6 separate regions of the Homo sapiens genome follow, and regions 1, 2, 3, 4 and 5 are each linked to region 6. The links are contacts of gene promoters, found by promoter capture Hi-C in human tissues and cell types (Jung and others, 2019). All regions are on one chromosome and are shown on one strand. Each heading gives the region's core, a stretch centred on a gene start or on the middle of the fragment in contact. The rest is flanking DNA. Distances are from core to core; before and after follow the strand shown.

What was found. The method cuts DNA at HindIII sites, captures the fragments that hold promoters and counts their contacts. A contact is called where the count stands out against the background at its distance.
Region 1: a fragment that was not itself captured here is called in contact with the fragment with the promoter of HPGD in region 6 in 1 of the 25 tissues and cell types used here (H1 embryonic stem cells).
Region 2: a contact is called between a fragment that was not itself captured here and the fragment with the promoter of HPGD in region 6, in 5 of the 25 tissues and cell types used here (dorsolateral prefrontal cortex, heart left ventricle, heart right ventricle and 2 more).
Region 3: a fragment that was not itself captured here is called in contact with the fragment with the promoter of HPGD in region 6 in 10 of the 25 tissues and cell types used here (bladder, heart right ventricle, lymphoblastoid cells and 7 more).
Region 4: a contact is called between a fragment that was not itself captured here and the fragment with the promoter of HPGD in region 6, in 2 of the 25 tissues and cell types used here (lymphoblastoid cells and stomach).
Region 5: a fragment that was not itself captured here is called in contact with the fragment with the promoter of HPGD in region 6 in 1 of the 25 tissues and cell types used here (mesendoderm cells).

The regions. Positions count from the first base shown.
Region 1 is chr4:174,344,302-174,348,129 of GRCh38, reverse strand. No RefSeq gene overlaps it. Among named protein-coding and RNA genes, the nearest start is that of CEP44, 62 kb to the right of the region's middle. The HindIII fragment of the contact is 4,488 bases long and covers 1-3,828 here.
Region 2 is chr4:174,655,731-174,659,701 of GRCh38, reverse strand. It overlaps GLRA3 (glycine receptor alpha 3), which reads left to right. Exons shown (of 10, transcript NM_006529.4): 8 at 505-648; 9 at 2,915-2,959. Among named protein-coding and RNA genes, the nearest start is that of HPGD, 140 kb to the right of the region's middle. The HindIII fragment of the contact is 6,620 bases long and covers 1-3,971 here.
Region 3 is chr4:174,361,482-174,365,340 of GRCh38, reverse strand. All of the region lies in intron 2 of LOC105377547 (a long non-coding RNA gene), which reads right to left. Among named protein-coding and RNA genes, the nearest start is that of MIR4276, 60 kb to the left of the region's middle. The HindIII fragment of the contact is 6,822 bases long and covers 1-3,859 here.
Region 4 is chr4:174,723,938-174,728,097 of GRCh38, reverse strand. The region is part of intron 4 of GLRA3 (glycine receptor alpha 3); the gene reads left to right. Among named protein-coding and RNA genes, the nearest start is that of GLRA3, 100 kb to the left of the region's middle. The HindIII fragment of the contact is 4,814 bases long and covers 1-4,160 here.
Region 5 is chr4:174,386,981-174,390,707 of GRCh38, reverse strand. LOC105377547 (a long non-coding RNA gene) reads right to left here. Exons shown (of 7, transcript XR_001741920.1): 3 at 2,016-2,131; 4 at 1,208-1,357; 5 at 122-235. Among named protein-coding and RNA genes, the nearest start is that of MIR4276, 35 kb to the left of the region's middle. The HindIII fragment of the contact is 4,777 bases long and covers 1-3,727 here.
Region 6 is chr4:174,521,238-174,523,737 of GRCh38, reverse strand. HPGD (15-hydroxyprostaglandin dehydrogenase) reads left to right here and starts at 1,250. Exons shown (of 7, transcript NM_000860.6): 1 at 1,250-1,379; 2 at 1,671-1,794. The coding sequence starts at 1,287. It overlaps LOC105377548 (a long non-coding RNA gene), which reads right to left and starts at 1,125. Exons shown (of 7, transcript XR_007058492.1): 1 at 609-1,125; 2 at 317-353. The HindIII fragment of the contact is 5,489 bases long and covers 1-2,500 here.

The sequences.
Region 1 (3,828 bases), core at 728-3,227, 180 kb after region 6:
TCTGCTAAGGGACAGACTGCCTTCTCAAGTGGGTCCCTGACCCTCGTGCCTCCTCACTGGGAGACACCTCCTCCCAGCAGGGGTCAACAGATACCTCATACAGGAGAGCTCCAGCTGGCATCTGGCAGGTGCCCCTCTGGGATGAAACCTCCAGAGGAAGGAGCAGCCAGCAATCTTTGCATTCTGCAGCCTCTACTGGTGATACCCAGGCAAACAGGGTCTGTAGTGGACCTTCAGCAAACTCCAGCAGACCTACAGAAGAGGGGCCTGACTATAGAAGGAAAACTAACAAACAGAAAGCAATAACATCAACATCAACAAAAAGGATGCCCATGCAAAAACCGCATCCAAAGGTCATCAGCATCAAAGATCAAAAATAGGTAAATCCAAGAAGACAAGGAAAAAGCAGCGCAAAAATGCTGAAAATTCAAAAAAACAGAATGCCTCTTCTCCTCCAGAGGATCACAACTCCTCACCAGCAAGGGAACAAAACTGAATGGAGAATGAGTTTGACAAATTGACAGAAGTAGGCTTCAGAAGGTGGGTAATAACAAACTCCTCCGAGCTAAAGGAACATGTTCTAACCTAATGCAAGGAAGCTAAGAACCTTAATAAAAGGTTACAGGAACTGCTAACTGGAACACTTAGTTTAGAGAAGAACATAAATGACCTGATGGAGCTGAAAAACACAGCACGTGAACTTCATGAAGCATACACAAGTATCAATAGCCGAATCAATCAAGTGGAAGAAAGGGTATCAGGGATTGAAGATCAACTTAATAAAATAAAGCATGAAGACAAGATTAGAGAAAAAAAGAATGAAAGGAAGGAACAAAGCCTCCAAGAAATATTGGACTATATGAAAAGACCAAACCTACGATTGATTGGTGTACCTGAAAGTGATGAGGAGAATGGAACCAAGTTGGAAAACACACTTCAGGATATTATCCAGGAGAACTTCCCCAACCTAGTAAGACAGGCCAACATCCAATTTCCGGAAATACAGAGAACACAACTAAGATACTCCTCAAGAAGAGGAACCCCAAGACACATAATCATCAGATTCACCAAGGTTGAAATGAAGGAACAAATGTTAAGGGCAGCCATAGAGAAAGGTCAGGTTACCCACAAAGGGAAGCCCATCAGACTAATAGCGGATCTCTCTGGAGAAACCCTACAAGCCAGAAGAGAGTGGGGGCCAATATTCAACATTTTTAAAGAAAAGAATTTTCAACCCAGAATTTCATATTCAGCCCAACTAAGCTTCATAAGTGAAGGAGAAATAAAACCCTTTACAGACAAGCAAATGCTGAGGGATTTTTGTTACCACCAGGCCTGCCTTATAAGAGCTCCTGAAGGAAGCACTAAATATGGAAAGGAAAAACTGGTACCAGCCACTCCAAAACACATACCAAAATATAAAGAAAAACAACACTATGGAGAAACTGCATCAACTAATGAGCAAAATAACAAGCTAGCATCAAAATAACAGGATCAAATTCACACATAACAATATGAACCTTAAATGTAAAAGGGCTAAATGCCCCAGTTAAAAGACACAGACTGGCAAATTGGATAAAGAGTCAAGACCCATTGGTGTGCTGTATTCAGGAGACCCATGCCACATGCAAAGACACACATAGGCTTAAAAGAAAGGGATGGAGGAATATTTACCAAGCAAATGGAAAGCAAAAAAAAAGGAGGGGTTGCAATCCTAGTCTCTGATAAAACAGACTTCAAACCAACAAAGATCAAAAAAGACAAAGAAGGGCATTACATAATGGTAAAGGGATCAATGCAACAAGAAAAGCTAACTATCGTAAGTATGTATGCACCCAATACAGGAGCACCCAGGTTTATAAAGCAAGTTCTTAGAGACCTACAAAGAGACTTAGACTCCCACACAATAACAGTGGGAGACTTTAATGCCCCACTGTCATTATTAGACAGATCAACGAGACAGAAAATTAACAAAGATATTCAGAACTTGAACTCAGCTCTGCACCAAGTGGACCTTACAGACATCTATAGAACTCTCCACCCCAAATCAACAGAATATACATTCTTCTCAGCAGCACATCACACTTACTCTAAAATTGGCCACATAATTGGAAGTAAAACACTCCTCAGCAAATGTAAAAGAACAGAAATTATAACTGTCTCTCAGACCACAGTGCAATCAAATTAGAACTCAGGATTAAGAAACTCACTCAAAACCAGACAACTACATGGAAACTGAACAACCTGCTCCTGAATGCCTACTGGATAAATAATGAAACTAAGGCAGAAATAAATAAGTTCTATGAAACCAATGAGAACAAAGACACAACATACCAGAATCTCTGGGACACAGCTAAAGCAGTGTTTAGGGGGAATTTATAGCACTAAATGTCCATATGAGAAAGCAGGAACGATCTAAAATTGACACCCTAACATCACAATTAAAATAACTAGAGAAGCAAGAGCAAACAAATTCAAAAGCTAGCAGAAGAAAAGAACTAACTAAGATCAGAGCAGAACTGACAGAGATAGAGACATGAAAAACCCTTCAAAAAAAATCAATGAATCCAGGAGTGGTTTTTTGAGAAGATTAACAAAATAGACCACTAGCCAGACTAATAAAGAAGAAAAGAGAGAAGAATCAAATAGACACAATAGAAATGATAAAGGGGATATCACCACTGATTCCACAGAAATACAAACTACCATCAGAGAATACTTTAAACACCTCTACACAAAAAAACTAGAAAATCTAGAAGAAATGGTAAATTCCTGGACACATAAACACCATCCCAACCTCCCAAGACTAAACAAGGAAGAAGTCAAATCCCTGAATACACCAGCAACAAGTTCTGAAATTGAGCCAGTAATTAATAGCCTACCAACCAAAAAAAGCCCATGTCTAGACAGATTCACAGCCAAATTCAAAGAGGAGCTGGTACCACTCCTTCTGAAACTATTCCAAACAATAGAAACAAAGAGGGACTCCTCCCTAACTTATTTTATGACTCCAGCATCATCCTGATACCAAAACCTGGCAGAGACACAACAACAACAAAAAGAAAGTTTTAGGCCAATATCCCTGATGAACATCAATGCGAAAATGCTCAATAAAATACTGGCAAACTGAATCCAGCATTACATCAAAAAGCTTATCCACCATGATCAAGTTGGCTTCATCCCTGGGATGCAAGGCTGGTTCAACATACACAAATGAATAAACGTAAGCCATCACATAAACAGAACCAATGACAAAAACCACATAAGTCTCTCAGTAGATGTAGAAAAGGCCTTCAACACCCTTTCATGCTAAAAACACTCAATAAACTAGGTATTGATCGAACATATCTCAAAATAATAAGAGCTATTTATGACAAACCCATAGCCAATATCATACTGAATGGGCAAAAGCTGGAAGCATTCCCTTTGAAAACTGGCACAAAGGCTGGGCGTGGTGGCTCATGCCTATAATCCCAGCACTTTGGGAGGCCAAGACGGGCAGGTCACAAGGTCAGGAGTTCAAGGCCATCCTGGCCAACATGGTGAAACCCTGTCTCTACTAAAAATACAAAAAATTAGCTGAGCGTAGTGGCGAGTTCCTGTAATCCCAGCTACTCAGGAGGCTGAGGCAGGAGAATTGCTTGAACTCTGGAGGCAGAGGTTGCAGTGAGCTGAGATTGTGCCATTTCCCTCCAGCCTGGGCAACAGAGTGAGACTCCATCTCAAAAAAAAAAAAAAAAAGAAAAGAAAAGGAATTTTAAAATATGTATCATTCTTTTTAACCAATGGCTCTGGACCAACTGGCGTGCAAGTGCAAAAAAATGAACC
Region 2 (3,971 bases), core at 721-3,220, 140 kb before region 6:
CTGAGCCTGACCTCTTTGCACTATTCTTATAACATGTCTTTATAAAAGTCAAAAAATATTTCAAAATAGATAGCAAATAACCATATATTATTTATAAATGCAATGAAAGAAAAATATCTTAACAGAATTAATAAATACAATTTTAATTTTTTTAAAAAAATTGATGAAAATATGGAACTAAAAAGCCAACAGCATTATCTATATTTCAATGTTCATACTTTTCAAGCAGTATACTGTTCTGAAGGTAAAATTATATTTCATCTTATGTTTTCTTTCATCGTGTTTGGGCTATTGCCTAAATTTGAAAAAAATTAACAAAATGCTCATAATACATAAAATTTACAAAAATAACTAAGGAAACTTCAAGAAAAAATTGTCATTTTCTTTATTTTTTAAAACTTATGTATAAATGACATAATTCAGAATCAGAAAAACTCAGTTTTGTTCTCAAAGGAAGTAACAATATAAGTGAATTTGCTTGCTTTCTCTTTCTCTCTTGGCTAGGTTTCATATGTCAAAGCTATTGATATTTGGATGGCAGTATGCCTCCTTTTTGTGTTTTCAGCACTTCTGGAGTATGCAGCTGTAAATTTTGTATCAAGACAACACAAAGAACTTCTGAGATTTCGACGAAAGAGAAAGAATAAGGTAAGTGATTAAACGTATTGGGTTTGGCAGAATCCAGTTTTCACTCGAAAGTGAATTTGTTGTATTTAATAGAGATGAAAAGAGAAGCAATTGGGACTGGGGATGAAATGATATAATATTCCTTTCATTTTTTTCCAATCCAAACTAAAAGTGTCAAAAATAGCTTTAGGGAGAAAATGATGACACCTAGCTCTACTTTAAACAGCATATCCGATGACATGGGACCTATATCAAGTTCTTTTTAATGCGCTTCCTGGAACAACACTTTTTAAATTTTAATTAATGAATTATGTCATTTCTTACTTGCAATGTTAGAGCATTTCTAATAGTTTCACTTGATATAAGTCATCAAATGTAATTATTCATGTTCCTTTGTCAGAGCTAATTCATTTCATTATTTCCATCAAATATTACTTATTTACTAATACCATGATGATAAATACATGCAAATCTCTGTGGTCTCTTCTTGATGCATATTGTCATGAGCTAAAGACATTTCTTTTGAAACCCTGTGGGAAACACAATAAAGTGCTTTTGTTGCCTGGCTACTATCTGATAAGTGATGAAACCAGGAGGAAACTTAGAACATCATGAAGACACCGTAGGAAGTTGCAGAAGTAAACCCCTAATTGGATTTGGATGCCCTAAATGAAGTTCTTCCTCTATGCAGAACTGTAATGGCATCTTCCTTGACATGCATGTGGTTTTGACCAATCCCCTTTCTTTTTCTATAAGAGAGAGCCTCTATCAACCGCAGATCCACGCATTTACTTCTAATGTGAATGTGCCAACAGACATTTTAAAAGCAAATGGTCTTTTAAAGCAATGGACAATAATGTCAAAATTTTGTGTAATTGTGGCAAGGATCCAATATCCTGGCATATTTGTCAAAAGATAAACCTTAATGGTAACAGTCTAGTTCACATAGTGTGCATTTTTAAGTATTTAAAGGTTTCAATTTTTTAAGGTTTCTTTATAAATTATACTGCAATTTATGTATTGATTAAACTTCTTTAAAAAGCACTAAGCTTTGACCTCTCAGTGCTTGAATCTACTTAGTATTAAACATATTCTAAAGCAGTAACTTTACTTATCATTTCTAATTGGCCTTCCCAAAAGCATCACTGCTCCAATAAACACACAATTAACAGCTACGTGGAAAGAACATCAGCATTCAGCATCGGGAGATTTAGTAATACATGAACAAAAAACAGGCTAAGACTTGCATTTAATTAAATTTTTATGAAAACAGACGCATATCTTTTGTACACTGAAACATATTGTGATGGGGAGATTAACTTTATCTTCTTCCCTCACCTCACCCTGGTCTACTGGTCTGTTACATTTCTCATTTCTCCTCATTCTGCCTTTATCTCTTTTTCTTCCTCTTCTCTCTCCCTCTCCACCGCCTACTTTCTCATCTTTTCTTTCATGATAACTGGCACCGGTTGAACAACGACAGTACAAATGCTGTATCACAGGGATGACACTCTGGTCTTTCTTCGTTACTAGTAACTGATAAAGACCACTTTCCCTTCTAGTATCATTAATTAGAAGTAAAGCAATACGCATGTTCCCTATCATTATGATTTGCTTTTTGTCATTTTGGTTTTCCATTTCTTTACCTTTTTCCTTCTCCTTATACAATTTAGAATGTATCAAGCATGTCCTGTAAATTCTAGAAAAGAGAAGTATTGTGCATCCGGTGTCCAAATGGGTAAACTGTGAAAGCTCAGACATATCCTACATCCACCACACATCCAGTAATCATAATATCCAGTAGAAAAAGTATTAGACAACAAGTTTAGATGCTCAATTCTGGTTCCTTCTTTTAAAAAATTATTTTTACCAAAGTGCCTCTTTATTCAGTTTTACCACATGTAAAAGTGAAATTAAAATATTTGATGCTCCTTCCTCTTTAGCTCATAGAAAGAGGGAAACATTCATTTTCTCCAGTGATTGGTACCCTGGGAAAATGCAGAAATGCAAAAACAATCATATCTTATTATTTTCTGATAACTACTTGATATATTCAGGGAGCAAATGTAATTAAACATAATTATGATTTAATGAAGAAAAAAGGTTTTTTAAGTTCAGTTTTGTATGTTGGGGTAGATACTTTGCATATGTGAAAATCTATTAATTGCTACATATGTCTGTTCAAATGGTATATACAATTACAACCAATTGTGTAATTATATTTAATCATATATGAATTGATTCTCTGGTTTCTCAATTCCTCTTGGTCCACTTTACCTTCCCACAGACAGAAGCTTTTGCACTGGAGAAGTTTTACCGTTTCTCAGATATGGTAAATTGACTTTCTTAACTCTAAATAGAGGAATGTGGTCATCAGTAAAAAGCAGACAGCATATTCTGCACTACCAAGGCAGTGTTTGGTGGGGAAACACAGCCCCTTTTGTATTGAAAGCTGAGCAAATATCATCCCCCTTCAGCTAAGAAGGGTATTTTCTTTTTCTAAAAACTTTATTCTTGTCTTCTCTCATCAATAAAAGGATATTTAAATATTACCCTTCATTTTATTAACAGAGCTATTTGATTGGTCAAAATGATTTAAAAATATATGTTAAAGAGAAATATCACATATATCTTGTAATAATCACCAGAGAAGAAACACTCAGATGCTTGCATAAAATTAGTTGAAAATAAATGGAAAATTTATTTATACAAACAAATTCTAAAAGCAACTGCACAAGAGACCTCAAAATAAGGCAACAAAATGCTTCGTGCCTTCTGTGTATCTTTAGAATCCATTCTAAATGTTAAAATATGTTGAGGTTACTTATAGCAAGTGAACAATTTAGTTTTGATAGCAGCATCCTTTGAAATTATCAAATAAAAAGAGGTCACAAAGACACATGTCCAAGTATAATGACTAAATATTAGGAAAGCAATCTAAAATAGATAGTTTGGGTCTGTACGTGGTTTAACTTGGGGGTTCATAATATAGTATGCAATAATTAAACAGAAATCTACTGAAGCCAAGAATTTAGCCTGAGAAGTCACACACAAATAGTTCTGTCTACTAAACTTAATTTCTGGGGTAAACTATATTTATAAGTAGTTCTCCAGATGATTCTATTGTACACTGCAGGTAAGCATCTCTGCAAGAGACTTAATGTTAAATAATTCTTGCAGTAATCTCAACCTCATAACAGATTGTCTAGACCTGGTATTATTTTAAAGTACTTGCTACGTTCTCTTATAATATATAATCACTCAGCGATTGTCCTTTGCAACTAAAGTTTACATCTTATTTCCCAGCATCCATTTCTCCCTTTGTTTTTCATCCCTGAAAGATA
Region 3 (3,859 bases), core at 643-3,142, 160 kb after region 6:
ATATCTATCACTACAGATTTTTTTATTTGCTAAGAGCAGAACCAAATTAGTTCCTTATTTTCTCAACTTTCCAAAAAAAAAAAAAAAAAAAAAAAACAAAACACCAGGCAAATGAACAAAAACCCAAGCCTTTACTGCCACCCAGTGGTTGTTCAGAATTAAAAAAAAAATTTTGCCAGGTCATGACTAACATTTTAAAGGAAATTTTTATTCTTGAAATGCTAGAATGTTTCAGACATTTTAATATGAAGCAACTTGAGACAAAAACTTTTAAAAAATAGCCACACATATCTACTATGAGTACATTATCAATGATGTTATTTTAAACATTGCAACAAAATGATGAATACAATAACAACTCATTCTCATCTTACTTTGACAGGTAATTTAACTTTTTGTTTGAAATAATTATAGATTAATATGAAGTTACAAAAATGGTACATATATTTCTATTTAAAAACTGCCAAGTTACTTCCCGAGTGGTTCTGTCATTTTTGATTCACACAAAGTAAAAGATATTCAGTTTCTCGGCATTCTCATCAGCATTTGGTGTTATCACTAATTTTTTTTTTTTTTTTTTGAGACGGAGTTTTGCTCTGTTGCCCAGGCTGGATTGCCGTTGCATGTGATCTCGGCTCACTGCAACCTCTGTCTCCCGGATTCAAGCAATTCTTCTGCCTCAGCCTCCCAAGTAGCTGGGACTACTGGCATGTGCCACTGCACTGAGCTAATTTTTGCATTTTTAGTAGAGACAGGGTTTCACCATGCTGGCCAGGCTGGTCTTGAACTCCTGACCTGATGATCCACCTGCCTTGGCCTCCCAAAGTGCCAGGATTGCAGGCAAGAGCCACCATGCCCGGCCCACTATTTTTAATGTTAGCCATCCTGATAGGTTTACAGTGGTATCTCACTGTAGTGTGAATGTGCATTTTCCTGATGACAAATGACTCTGAACACTTTTCCTGTGCTTATTTGCCATCCACTCCTCTTTGGAAACGTGTCTGTCTTTTGATCATTTTGTATTTTTAAAACTGTTGACTTTCAAGAATTCTTTATATATTCTATATACAATCCCTTTGTCCTATATGGTCTTTAAAAATATTGTCTCTCACTGTGTAGCTTGCCTTTTCATTCTCTTAACAGGGTTTTTCACAGAGCAAACACTTTATTTTGATGAGGTCTGATATGGTTTGGCTGTGTCTCCACCCAAATCTCATCTTGAATTCCCATGTGTTGTGTGAGGGGCCTGGTGGGAGATAATTGAATCATGAGGGTGAGTCTTTCCCATGCTGTTCTCATGAGAGTGAGTAAGTCTCATGAGATCTCTGATGGTTCTATGAGGAGGTGTTCACCTACACAAGCTTTTTCTTTGCCTGTTGCCATCCATGTAAGATGTGACTTGCTCCTCCTTGCCTTCCACCATGATTGTGAGGCCTCCCCAGCCACGTGGAACTGTAAGTCCATTAAACCTCTCTTTCTTTTGTAAATTGCCCAGTCTCAGGTATGCCTTTATTAGCAGTGTGAAAATGGACTAATACAAGGTCCAATTTATAAAAAAACTTTTTCTACATATCATGTTTTGGGTGTAATCAATAAGAACTCTTTGCCTAGCTCTAAGTCCTGAAGATATTCTCTATTTGATTTTTTTCTAAATGTTTTATATTCTTATATTTTATCATTAAGCCTATGATCTATTTTAAGTTAATTTTTCAATAAAGTATGAGGTTTTAGTCAAGGTGCATTTTTTAGAATGTCCAATTGCTCCAGCACCATTTGTTGAAAAGAAAATCCTTCCTCCCTGGAATTGTTTCTGTACCTTTGTTAAAAATCAGTTGAGTGTGTTTGTGTGTAACATGTGACTTTTATTTCATCTTCTAGTTAAACACATTGCATGATTAATCTCAACAACAGCCTTTTGATGACAGTAATGTAAAAATATTGATGAGATAATTTTATCAAAATGAAAACTAACATTAAATGTCTTTGGCTAGTAAAACACAGAAAATTATTCAAAATGGGAAATGAAATCTTAAATAATCTTCATATCATGTGCTGGGTTAAAACCTAATTTTAAATAAACGGCTGTATAACAAATCAGCAGAGAGCCATACCATTGAAGAGACTTCCATGATTTAAATCCTGGCAAGGTATTTTAGCAGCTAGCTACAGGACCTCTGAGGCCTGGCTACTAAACCCCTCAATGTCGGCATTTTTCATCTCCAAAATACAAGTAATAATCTACCTCCCTCTTTATGTTGCTGTGAAGATAAGTTAATTAACAGAACAATGCTTAACATATTAAGAACCCAATTTATGTCATCTATCATCAATAAAATCTGATATAAAAAGTCTGATAATGCCAGTGACAGCTCGAATCACACCTATCTTTTAAGATGAAATATATTTATCCTAAGCCTTGGGCAAGTTTCCTAGTCTAAGTGCATTTCCTCATCTGTAAAATAGGATTGTTATGAGGAACAAGTGAGCTAAAGTATTAGGTGGATTTATCACAGTGCTCAGTTACACAGGAAATACTCCTCTAGTAAGTACTACTCTTCTAAAATTTAAAATATTACTTACAATATTGTACCATTATTAATATCATATATTTGTGGAGCTCAAAGATGTATACAGACAGTCCCAGACAGGATGGTTCAACTTATGATTTTTTGACTTTACAGTGGTGCAAAAGCGATACACATTCAGTAGAAACCAGAGTTGAAATTTTGACTTTTGATCTTTTCCCAGGCTAGTGATATGCAGTATGACACTCTCTAGATGCTGAGCAATGGCAGTGAGCCATAGCCCTGAGTCAGCCAGGTGATAATGAGGGTAAACCAGTACTATACTACACAGTGTAATATAGTCAATAAATTACGTGAGATATTCAACACTTTATTGTAAAACAGGCTTTGTGTTAGATGATTTTGCCCAACTGTAGGCTAATGTAAATGTTCTGAGCATGTTTAAGGTAGGCTAGGCTAAGCTATGATGTCTAGTAGGTTAGCTACATTAAATGTATTCTGACTTATAGTATTTCCAACTTATGATGGGTTTATTGTGACAGTCTCATTGTAAATTGAGGAGCATCTGCAAAACATGCTATGTTAGATGCTAGGATTAAAAAGCAATAAAGGCAGTCCTTATGCTAGATTGCATTTTATAGTCTACAAGCAAAATCAGAACATGCAAAATAGAGATGGGAGAGAAACTATTGCTACCAGAGGCATATGAGACTAAACAGTTTCAGTCTCCATAATGACCAACCATAGTTTGAATGCTGGAGAATTTCAACACCAACAACTCGGTTGACCTAACTCTTAAAGACAGAGCAAAAATATTTAGCAAACCCATGAAAATTAAGTTTATTTGATATTTTAAGAGAAAGAAACACAGATTAGGCAAATATTCTATGGAAGAATAGCAGAGTTTTACCAACTTAATTAGCATATATAAGAAACTATTACCAGCAAAGAAAATTCTGTATGGAAGCTTAAAGCACGGTGGTTACTTATCAATTATGAATATAAGTCTAATTCGTATTTTTTTCAACTTTTATTTTAGATTCAGGGGTATATATACAAGTTTGTTACCTAGTTATATTCTAAGATGCTTAGGTTTGGGGTATGAATGATCCCGTCACCCAAATACTGAGTATAGTACCCAATAATTTTTCAATGCTTATGTATCTCCCTCTCTGCTCCCTCCAGTAGTCTCCAGTTTCTATTGTTCCCATCTTTACATCCACGAGTACCCAACGTTTAGCTCCCACTTACGAGTGAGGCCGTGGTATTTGGTTCTCTGTTCCTGCTTAATTTGCTTAAGATAATGGCCTCCAGTTGCATCTATGTTGCTGCAA
Region 4 (4,160 bases), core at 920-3,419, 200 kb before region 6:
CTGAGATACATTCTACATAGATTATTTTTCAGGTATATGTGTTGTTTTTTAAAAATATCCTTGAGCTTCTCTGGTCATTCTTTTGCATTTTTGCCCTAACTGTTCAAGTTTCATCCTTTCTAACATGCTGCAAAGTGATGATTTGTTAATAAACTTTGAACAAGGCAGGGAAGAAAAAAAATCACTGTATTATGTGAAAATGGATGACAAAACCTTAATCACAATCCCTGGAAAAGACCTTATTTACATTTATGTTCCTAATTATTGACTTATCAGAAAAGTGTATAGCATTAAAAAAAACCCAATATTGAATAATAATTAATACCAAACAATAAACACTAATAAAAATTTTTGACAGTTGAACTCTAGGATTCACTTAACTTTGGCAGTTCATTAAATATGAAACAAATGTAGAGTCAGTAAATAGCTACTTACATGATATATTTGATGATCTTTGTCACATCTGAAAAAATCTTCTAAAATAGTGATTATTTAAAAATTTTCCATAATTGTTTTTCTAATTTAGTTTAGTTGTGAAGAACAGGACGTAAGAACAGAATTCATGTCATGTCTCTTAGAAGAGGGAGAATATGTTATACTTCTAGCAAGAGCCAAATATTTAAATACTTTTTTCACCAGTATCATGTTTTAAAAGGTATCAAGGTAGGCTTAATATTGAGGTCTTAGGCTTAAAATTAATTCATTCTGTTTTATCTCTCTCTTATCTTCTCTTTTGTAAACTTTCCTTCTCATCAGGAATGGGGGTATTTGATTTGGAGTTCATATGCCCAATATCAGGGATAAAATAGTAGGATTCTAAAATGTAATCTTAATAGCTTAGTGATTTTGAAAATGTTTTTTTCTGCAAAGTGGTTTTATAAATAATGCTTTATCCCATGTCTGCTCTTCATCTCTGCATCCCAATACATTATGTCTGCTTTTCACATTTACCTAGTTCATGAGAACAGATTTCTTTTCCATAGATTTATTGATTTCTAAAAGTGACAGGGTGACATCACTCTATTGTGAATTGACCCTTTCATCAGAATTCTGAGAAACAACTAATATGTACTAATATAATCTTAAGTGATTAACTGCTACATATGGCACAAAGGAAGATTTCAGGTTCCACCACTAATAAGCCCTATACTCCCATATGGATGAGTAAATTAATGGTGAATTCCAGGTCTATGCAAGATAATTTTGCACCTTTTAAAAAAATTACCAAAAGTCCACCCCTCCCCCAACCCCGCCCCACCACTAAATATCAAAAGATAGCAAGAATCTCACTTCGGGGAAGATGGAACAGACATACTTTTTTCTATTCTACCTGCTAAGTACAACTAAAAAACCTGGACACAGTATGTATAACAAACTTAGGGAGATGCCCAGTGGTGGATATAAGCACAGGCTGGCTGTGTACCTTGGAACCTGAGGAACAACGTGGAGGTGAATTCCCAGAATTTTCCTTTTGCTTCGTACATCCTAGACTTGAAGATGAAGAAACTGGCAACATGGCAACATCAGCAGGTACAGACAAAAATCAAAGTCCCAACAAAAGCCTAATTTCTCTAGCAAATCTAATATTCCCTAGAGGTTAGGAAAGGGGAAGCCTAGCAAGACAGAAAAGCTTTAGACAACTGCTCTACTCCAGCCCAACACCACAGGAAGAAATGCAATCCCCCTTAAGACAGCAAAGCCCAAATGGGGAGCCCAGACTTCCAGTCTTACCAGGTGGTATTGAGGTACCATCACACCTAACTCAAGATAGTGTCAGGAAAGGACAAATAATGAACTGGATTTTCATGCCCCACCATCCTATAGTGAGCTTCATACCTCACAGAGCCAGGAAGACCACATAGAAAGCCAGGAATTCCTCCCTTTCCCTGCAGAAACAAGGCATACCTTCCCTCTCTGCTGAGGTGGTTTTAGAGAAGACTTAGTGGACAGTCAATATTTTCAACATCACCTAGCAGTTCTGAGGCCACTCTCACCATAGTGTCAGTGGACATCATGCTTACACCTGGGACATCCAGCAATAAGGCGGAGCCTCTCCCCTCACAGGCCTGTATAGAGAGTGGTTAGGAAACAGACACAAGATAACACCTTCCCTTGCCTAAGCAGAGCAATGTCAGAGAAAACCAAAAAAGTTTAAATAAGAGCCAGAGTCTAATAAAATAGTATTTATATGTCTAGGCTTCAACCAAGAAACATTCATCATACAAAGAACCAGAAATCATACAAAGAACCATAAATGTTCAATAATTCTGGAAAAAGACAATCAACTGATAGCAACATCCAAATGACAAAGATGAGGCCAGGAGTGGTGGCTCACACCCTGTAATCTCAGCACTTTGGGAGGCTGAGGCAGGCAAATTGCTTGAGCCCAGGAGTTTGAGACCAGCCCAGGCAACGTGATAAAACCCTGTCTCTACAAAAAAACACAAAAATTAGCTGGGCAAGGTGGCGTTCACCTGTGTTCCCAGTGACTAGGAAGACTAAGGTGGGAGGATCTCTTGAGCCTAAGAGGCAGCGGTTGCAGTGAGCCCAGATCGCACCACTGCACTCCAGCCTGGGTAAAAAAGCAAGTCCCTGTCTCAAAAGAAAAGACAAAAATGTTAGATATCTGGCAAAGACTTTAAAGTAGCCATGATAAATTTGCTTCAGTGAGCAATTACAAATATGCTTGAAACAAATGAGAAAAATAGCCTCAGCAAAGAAATAGAAGCTACAAAGTGAAACCAAATCAAAATTTTAGACCTAAAAATACAATAATCAAAATGAAAGCTCAGTGTATGGGTGGACCAAAAAAAATGGAGAAGATGGAAAAGAGAATCAGTGAACCATAAAACAGAATAACAAAAATTACCCAATCTGAGCAACAGAGATGAATAGATTGGCCGTGGGGCCTGGGAAACAGCCTCAGGGATCTGTGAGATTACAACAAATGATCTAACATTCATGTCATCAGAGTGTCAGATAGAGGGGGAAAGGGTATGAAGCTAAAAAAAACTAGAGAAAACAATGGCTGAAATGTTAATACATTTTGCAAATGGCGTGAGCCTGCAGATTCAAGAAGTTGAGTTCCCAAACAAGATAAATCCAAAGATGTCCATATGAAGACACATAATGCATAAACTTCTGAAAACTAAATACAAATCCTGAAAGCATCCAGAAAATAGTGATATCTTATGCAGGAAAAACAATGAGAATGAGAGTAGATTTTTCTAGACGTCACTGAAGCCAGAAAGAAGCTACAAATATTTTTTTAGGTGCTGAAAGGAAGGAACTCTCATCTGAGAATCTTGTACCCAGGGAATATATCCTTCGGGAATAAAGGGGAAATCAAAACATTCTTGGATAAAGGAAAATAGAGAATTAATCACAAGTAAATCTGCCTGGAAAGTATGGTCAAAGAAGCTTTCTAAAAAAAAGAAAATGATAAAAGAAGAAGCATACGAATATCAAGAAGGAAAAAAGGACACAGGAAGCAAAAATATGAGTGAATACAATAGACTTTCCTTCTCATTTTGAGTTTCCTAAATTATATTTGACAGTTCAAGCAAAAATTATAAGACAGATGTAAGGGGAAAATGAAAGAAACAAATGAGATAACTTTTTTTATAAATGCATTGACAGAAGTTAATGAGACCGGTAAGATTTCGAGCTGTCTAATAGCCCTTCTGTGGTCACATGACTTGATGTTAACTGGGAAGAGGATTTGTCAAGATATATAAAAATATGAAACTCATTTATCCTTCAATTCAGCATTTCTATTTCTAGGAATCTAAATTACATATGTATGTGTACATAAGATATCTTTTACAAAGAGACCCACTGAAACACTGAAATAGCAACAAAAAAGGGCCTATATATGTTCACTAATAAGAACATGACTGAACACAGTAATAACCCCATATTATGAAATAACTTGCATGAGATAGACCTGAGTGTAAGCCTACATGATATATTTCAGTTCAAGAAAAATGTTTTGTATATTTTTAAGGCATATATATATATATACATATATATATACACACACACACACAAATATATATATGCATAGCTATGTATGTAAAAATATACATATATATGTCTATAGAAGAAGTTTAGACGAACCCCAAACAATTTAGAAATGAATAGGAATAGTGGAATTTGGG
Region 5 (3,727 bases), core at 858-3,357, 130 kb after region 6:
ATATATAGTAGGGATCAGAAAGTAACTCTGTTGGCTTGGAAGGCTGAGATTTGGTAGATAAGTTCCACCCTGACTTTGGAGTTTGGTGATATAGTATAATTATTAAATACATGTGGCTGACCTTTTCAGAGGGTCAGTTGGGTGTATCCCAAAGATCATCCCAGGAATGCATTTTCTGGTTCCGACCAACCTCTCCTTCTTAAACACCTCTTTGAAGACATTGCTTTAGTAAATCCTAATAAAACACAGTGTGTGGAAGGTTAAGAGAAGAAAATAAATAGGGATATAGCAACGCTAGGGCTAACACATCACTTACAAGTTTCTGAATAGGTCATCAGACCACGGGTTAATTATTTGTAAATATTTGTAAATAAAAATTATTTATAAATATATATATTTACAAATATATATACACAATATATATACATTTATTTGTCTATTTATTTATTTATTTATTTTGGGACAGGGTCTCACTATGTCACCCAGACTGGAGTGCAGTGGCATGGTCACTGCTCACTGCAGCCTCGACCTCCTGGGCTCACCTCAGCCTCCCACCTCAGCCTCCCAGGCAACTGAAACTACAGGTATGTGCCACAATGCCCAGCTAATTTTTGTATTTTTGGTAGAGATGTGGTTTTGCCCTGTTGCCCAGGTTGGTTTCGCACTCCTGGGCTCAAGCCACCCACCTGCCTTGACCTCTCAAAGCACTGGGATTACAGTCGTGAGCCACCGAGCCTAGGCAAATATACTTTTAATATAAAGAATGATTACATAGAACTTTCAATAGCAAGCCCCAAAAATTCTGCTTGAGACTAACTAGAATATAGGTTGTTATTTTATTTTATAGTTTTTTCTTACCAGACTATCACAAGTAGAAAATTGAAATTAAAATCTCTTGCTAATTTCTGTTTGTTCTGTGATCTCTTGAAGTGTGAATTTAAAATGCTTCTTTCAGTTCAGATTTGATTGAACATTCTATGGAGCACCTACTCACTGCAGATAAAAGGTGAAAAGGCTTTCTTCCATTCAGGTTACTCAGAGGGCAGACACACCTCATTTTAGTCATCCGATATGAACTGAGTGGCAACTCATTGCTATAAATATCTCCATATCTCCTGTTCCTCTCTGCTCAAACCATAGTTCCTGCCCCTATATGCTCAGCATTTTCCCCAGTGCCCTATGAATTCATTTCCTAAGTGTCTCTTACTTTATTTAAATCTCTCACAAATTCCCAAAGCCCATGTTACAAGGAGGAAGATTCAGCTGGGCAGGATCCCAGGAGATCTAGGGCTGGTTCTAAACCGATGACCTTTTAGCACGCATCTCTTATTTCTGCACTCAGCCCCAAAATAATACCCTAGGAGGAGAGAACAAATAGAGCAGGCATTAGATACAAAATAGAGAAACATTACCAACCAGTGACTGTTACCTGAAATTGTATGTTTATGCAAGTAGGGGATGATTTGGGCCGATTTATCTCATTTCAAGGAAGATAAACCTTCATTACAGTTCTGATTGAAGATTCCCATTGAAATCACAACCTGAACTAAACTACATAAAGCAATAAATATCTAGTTCCAGGGGATTCAATTTTCTAAATTTTTCTGAGCAAGGGGTCTATTGCAACTTTGATCTCATTGCAGCTGCTATGCTGGTCCCCAGCAGGAACTCAAGGATTCCACTTTTGAAGTGTCATACACAACTTTTCCTTGCTATGAAGAAACATGTACTTTCCAGCTGCTACAAAAGTAAAAATTTCCTCCCTGACTCTCCCCAGAGAATACATGCACAGAAAACTGAATTCATCTGTTCTGGTGCTGCTTGGAGGTAAGAAAAATAAAGAGAAAAAGAAAACTGTTCAAAAGGAAAACAATAACCCATTATTTTCTAAGCCAACAGTATATTTGCTTCTTACACAGGCTATAGTAAACACTTAGGAGAAATAGTTGTTACTTTATTTTATTAAAACTACAGGTAAGGTCAAGTTTAGCTGGAACTGTGAATTGGATCTTTACCTTCAGCATTGGCCCAGCCTCCTCTCTGGGCCTCTCACATCTGTTTTGGCAACCCCATTCCTCTGAAGCACTTAGAGCTTCATGGTCTTCTTCCATCCCCCAAAGAGCTGCCAAGACTTTAAAAAGAGAATAGTCATTGATGGATTATATAAAATTGAAAGTCAAATTCACTTTGACCCTGGTAGTATCATAATTAATTTATTCTGGAAAGAAAAAAATAATAGTAATTTGTTGCTCACTGTTGTGGAGCTGGGAAGTTCAAGATAAAGCTCCCAGCAGATTTGGTGTCTGGTTAGAGCTCATTCCTCGTAGATGTTGCTTTCTAGGTGTCCTCACATGGAAACCAGGCAGACTCCCTCAAGCCTCTTTTATAAGGGAATTAGTCCCATTAATGAGGGTGGAGCCCTCATGATCTAATCACCTCCCAAAGTCTCTACCTCTTAATACTCTTGCATTGGAGATTAGGTTTCAACATTTGAATTTTGGTGGGACACAAACATTCACATCGTAGCAAGAGGCATACATAAAGCAAAAGCACATACAAATCTGTGACTTATATACATAGAAAAACATATACTAACTTATAAAAACCAAAATACCTATATATAGTTACATTAATGTCAAGCAAAATAGACATTATAACAAATGACGTAGTGCTACAGGTATTAATATGGTTGATTCTTACAAATATAATATCAAGTTACAGAAAAATACATACAGAGAAAATGTATTTATATGAAGTTAAAGAATATACAAAATTGTTACGTAATATTTAGCAATGCTTATATATGTCATGAAGCAATTGTTGAGGAAACACAAAGAGCCTTGGCAGTATTTGTCTAGCCATGAGTATTCATGGTATTATTTTCTATATTCTTTGGTACATTTTATATTATTAATTAATTTCCTCTGTATTACACGTTGGTATACCTGATACATATATACATATATTATATTCCTATCTTTTAAATAAATAAATGGAAGTAAAAAATGTTAACAGTTTGATTTGTTTTAAAAATTATGACTGTGTTTTTAAACCAGAGGAGCTTTCTGGCAACGTCATCTGGAAATAAAACTGCACTTGCCAGCTGCCTTTCAATTATACTGCTCATTTTCTCTATCTTTCAGACTTGTAATCAGAGACAGATCTGGACACGTGAGTTTTAGTTTTCCACTTTGCACTTATAATTACTACCAAAATAGTTACACTCTCTGATGGGCTCCAAATGCATTGCCTAAAGCTTATTTCTTAGTGGGTTCACTTTCTAAATTGTTTGCTCCAACTGATCCTCTAAGAGTCAAAGACACAGGGATCTAAAAGATGAAATAACCAAAAATTATCTGCTTGAGTATTTCCTGGGCCAAGCCAATCAGTGCCTCTCTTTCTCTTTCTGCCTCTCCCCTTTTTCTCCCTCATTCTCTCTCTCTCTCTCTCTCTCTCTCTGTCTCCTTTTCTTAACATAGAAAAGGGAATGAAGAAACAGGAACTATGCAGCCCTGGTCTCCCTGGGACCCTTTCCACAATTCAGTCGTTAGCTCATCTGCCTTGTCTTTTACCATTAGGACTCCACCAGCAAACTGATTACTGGATGCTTCCTGTATGCTCCAGTCAGGATCTAGCCAAAAATGGAATCACAATTCACAGCTAATGTACAGGAATAAAAGCTGTTATTTTTCCTATCAGATGTCCTATAAACTGTAGTTTGTTTTAC
Region 6 (2,500 bases), core at 1-2,500:
TTTCCCAGTAAAGAAGGTAAAGAAGATATAAAAATGATTCATTCTGCTGTTAGTGTCAGTCTTTTGCTCAACTCCCATTTCCCCCAAGTATTTAGATTTTTTTTTTCTTTAAGAAAATAAATGCCAGCTGGGCATAGTGGCTCATGCCTGTAATCTTAGCACTCTTTGGGAGTCCAAGGTGGGAGGGTCGCTTGAGCCCTGGAGATTGAGGTTGCAGCGAGCTGGGATTATGCCACTGCATTCTAGCCAAACAGACAGAGCGAGATCTTGTCTCAAGATTAAAAAAAAAAAAAAAAAAAAAAAGCCAACCACTTACGTTTACAGAATTAAAATTGCAGCCTGCCGCTGACAACCTGAGAAAAAGAGACAAAGTCAGTGGAATAGCCCTTGTTATTTATGCAAGTCCGCATACAGCTAGCCCTGGAGTTCCTGGAGAGCAAGGAACCTCTGTCCCAAACTTGACTCAGAGCTTCCAAAGTTGGTGTATTTCAACAAGTAAGCATTCCATTGAGCCAACAATTTGGTAGGCTACCAGCGGCTCTGGAGCGCCTGTTGATGATGACAGTTTTTGTGGGGGCATCTCAATATGACACACAATTGACACTGACCAGAAACACAGCGCCAAGGACACTCTAGTCCTAGCCATGAAATGTTATGATTCCAGGTTTTCAGGACAGAGCAGAGTCCACTTCTCATCTCCAGTATCCGTAAAAATTTGTCCAAAATGTAACTAAGAAAACACAATGATATTAGTTACTTCTGCTCCCCGTCACCCTCAACCCCACTGATTACGAGATGGGAACTCACACAAAACTTTGAGACAAAAGAGCAACAAGTTTGCTTTATTGTTTGCTTGTTTTGTTCCGGAGTCGGGGCCGGGAGGGAGTGCAGGAGGAGGGATCCAAGCTTCCAAGCCTCTGCTCCGCTCTCCTTCTATCCAGTTGGTCTTTAGGGCACTGAAGGAAACTCTTCTTCAGAAATAACCTTTTAACTTTTCTTCTGTCAGCTGCCTGCCAATCACGGAGCCAGAGGCTGAGGGGAGGCTTTGAGCCGGTCTGCGAGTCCGGAAGGCAAAGATCGCGAAGCTTGGCGCTCCAGAACGCTCAGGGGGCAGGTGACACAGTCGTGGGTTCCCCGGCGGGCGCTGGCTTGACAGTTTCCTCCCCGCCCACTGGCAGGGGAGCGCCCCGCCGGGCTGCACGCGCGCGCGCGCAGGGGGGCATAAAAGCCGCGGCCGCGCGGAGACGCGGAGCTCGCCCACCGCCCGCCCCAGCAGTGGCTGCACCATGCACGTGAACGGCAAAGTGGCGCTGGTGACCGGCGCGGCTCAGGGCATAGGCAGAGCCTTTGCAGAGGCGCTGCTGCTTAAGGGCGCCAAGGTAAGCCCGGCGCCCAGCCGCGGAAATTTCTCTGCCCACACACTCCGAGACTCGCCCCGCCGCCCGAGGTGCACTGGCGGAGACAGGGAGGCCGCGCCCGGCGTGCCCACTTTGCCACTTCCAAAATTTGCTGAAGCTGAGGCTGTGAGCACACCTCAGAAGTGGCTGGGAGGGAACCCAAACCTAATTGCCAAATTTCAGGTCCAGGAGGGGAGCCTCTTGTGTGTTTATTGTTTGTCCGTCTATTTCGTGAGCTGCGCAGGCCCGCGATTCCTCTCCTCTTGTCTATAGGTAGCGCTGGTGGATTGGAATCTTGAAGCAGGTGTACAGTGTAAAGCTGCCCTGGATGAGCAGTTTGAACCTCAGAAGACTCTGTTCATCCAGTGCGATGTGGCTGACCAGCAACAACTGAGAGGTAAGACAGGGGAATCAATCTGTCAACTGGGAACGTGCTCTCAACAAGCAACAACCTGAAGGCAGCCCGGCCAGGGGGCCCTGGGTGCCGCCTCCGCTGCCTCCTCGAGAGCAGCTACCTTGAAGCTCCAAAAGACAGTTTGGACTGATACGTTTCCTTCTGACAGCCCAATAGCTGTAAAACCGAAAGAAAGGCAAGACTGCTGGAGAAATCCTTTTATTGTAGTCATTTGGCAGCATTAATGTAATCAAAATTCCTTTATGTATTCAAAGACAGTGCTGCTGCAGTAATTATTAAATGATTGAAATTGCAGACAAAACTTGGAAAATTAAAGTAGGTTAAGTAAGGTACTGTTGACAAACAACTTCTCCCAGAAAGCTGGAGTCCAATGACAATCAAATGTGGCAGTGTTTTTCGTTTAAACATATCAGAATACAAGTTCAAGGAGCATCATCACAGAAGTGCTAGATGCTTTTGACCATATGTTTTCTCCGGCTTTTTCCCCAATGAGACAGTACTTTAAAATAATAATAATAGTAATCATAATAAAGTATACAATGTTAGAATTGTAGTAGAAACATCTCTATCAGCCTTTCCTCAATGCTTTCCTGTTTCCGGCTACTCACTTAAAATAGACCAATCTACTTGTGAAGTATCAGGGACAATATTGGCATACACAATAAACAGCTTTGATTATAAAGCTGTT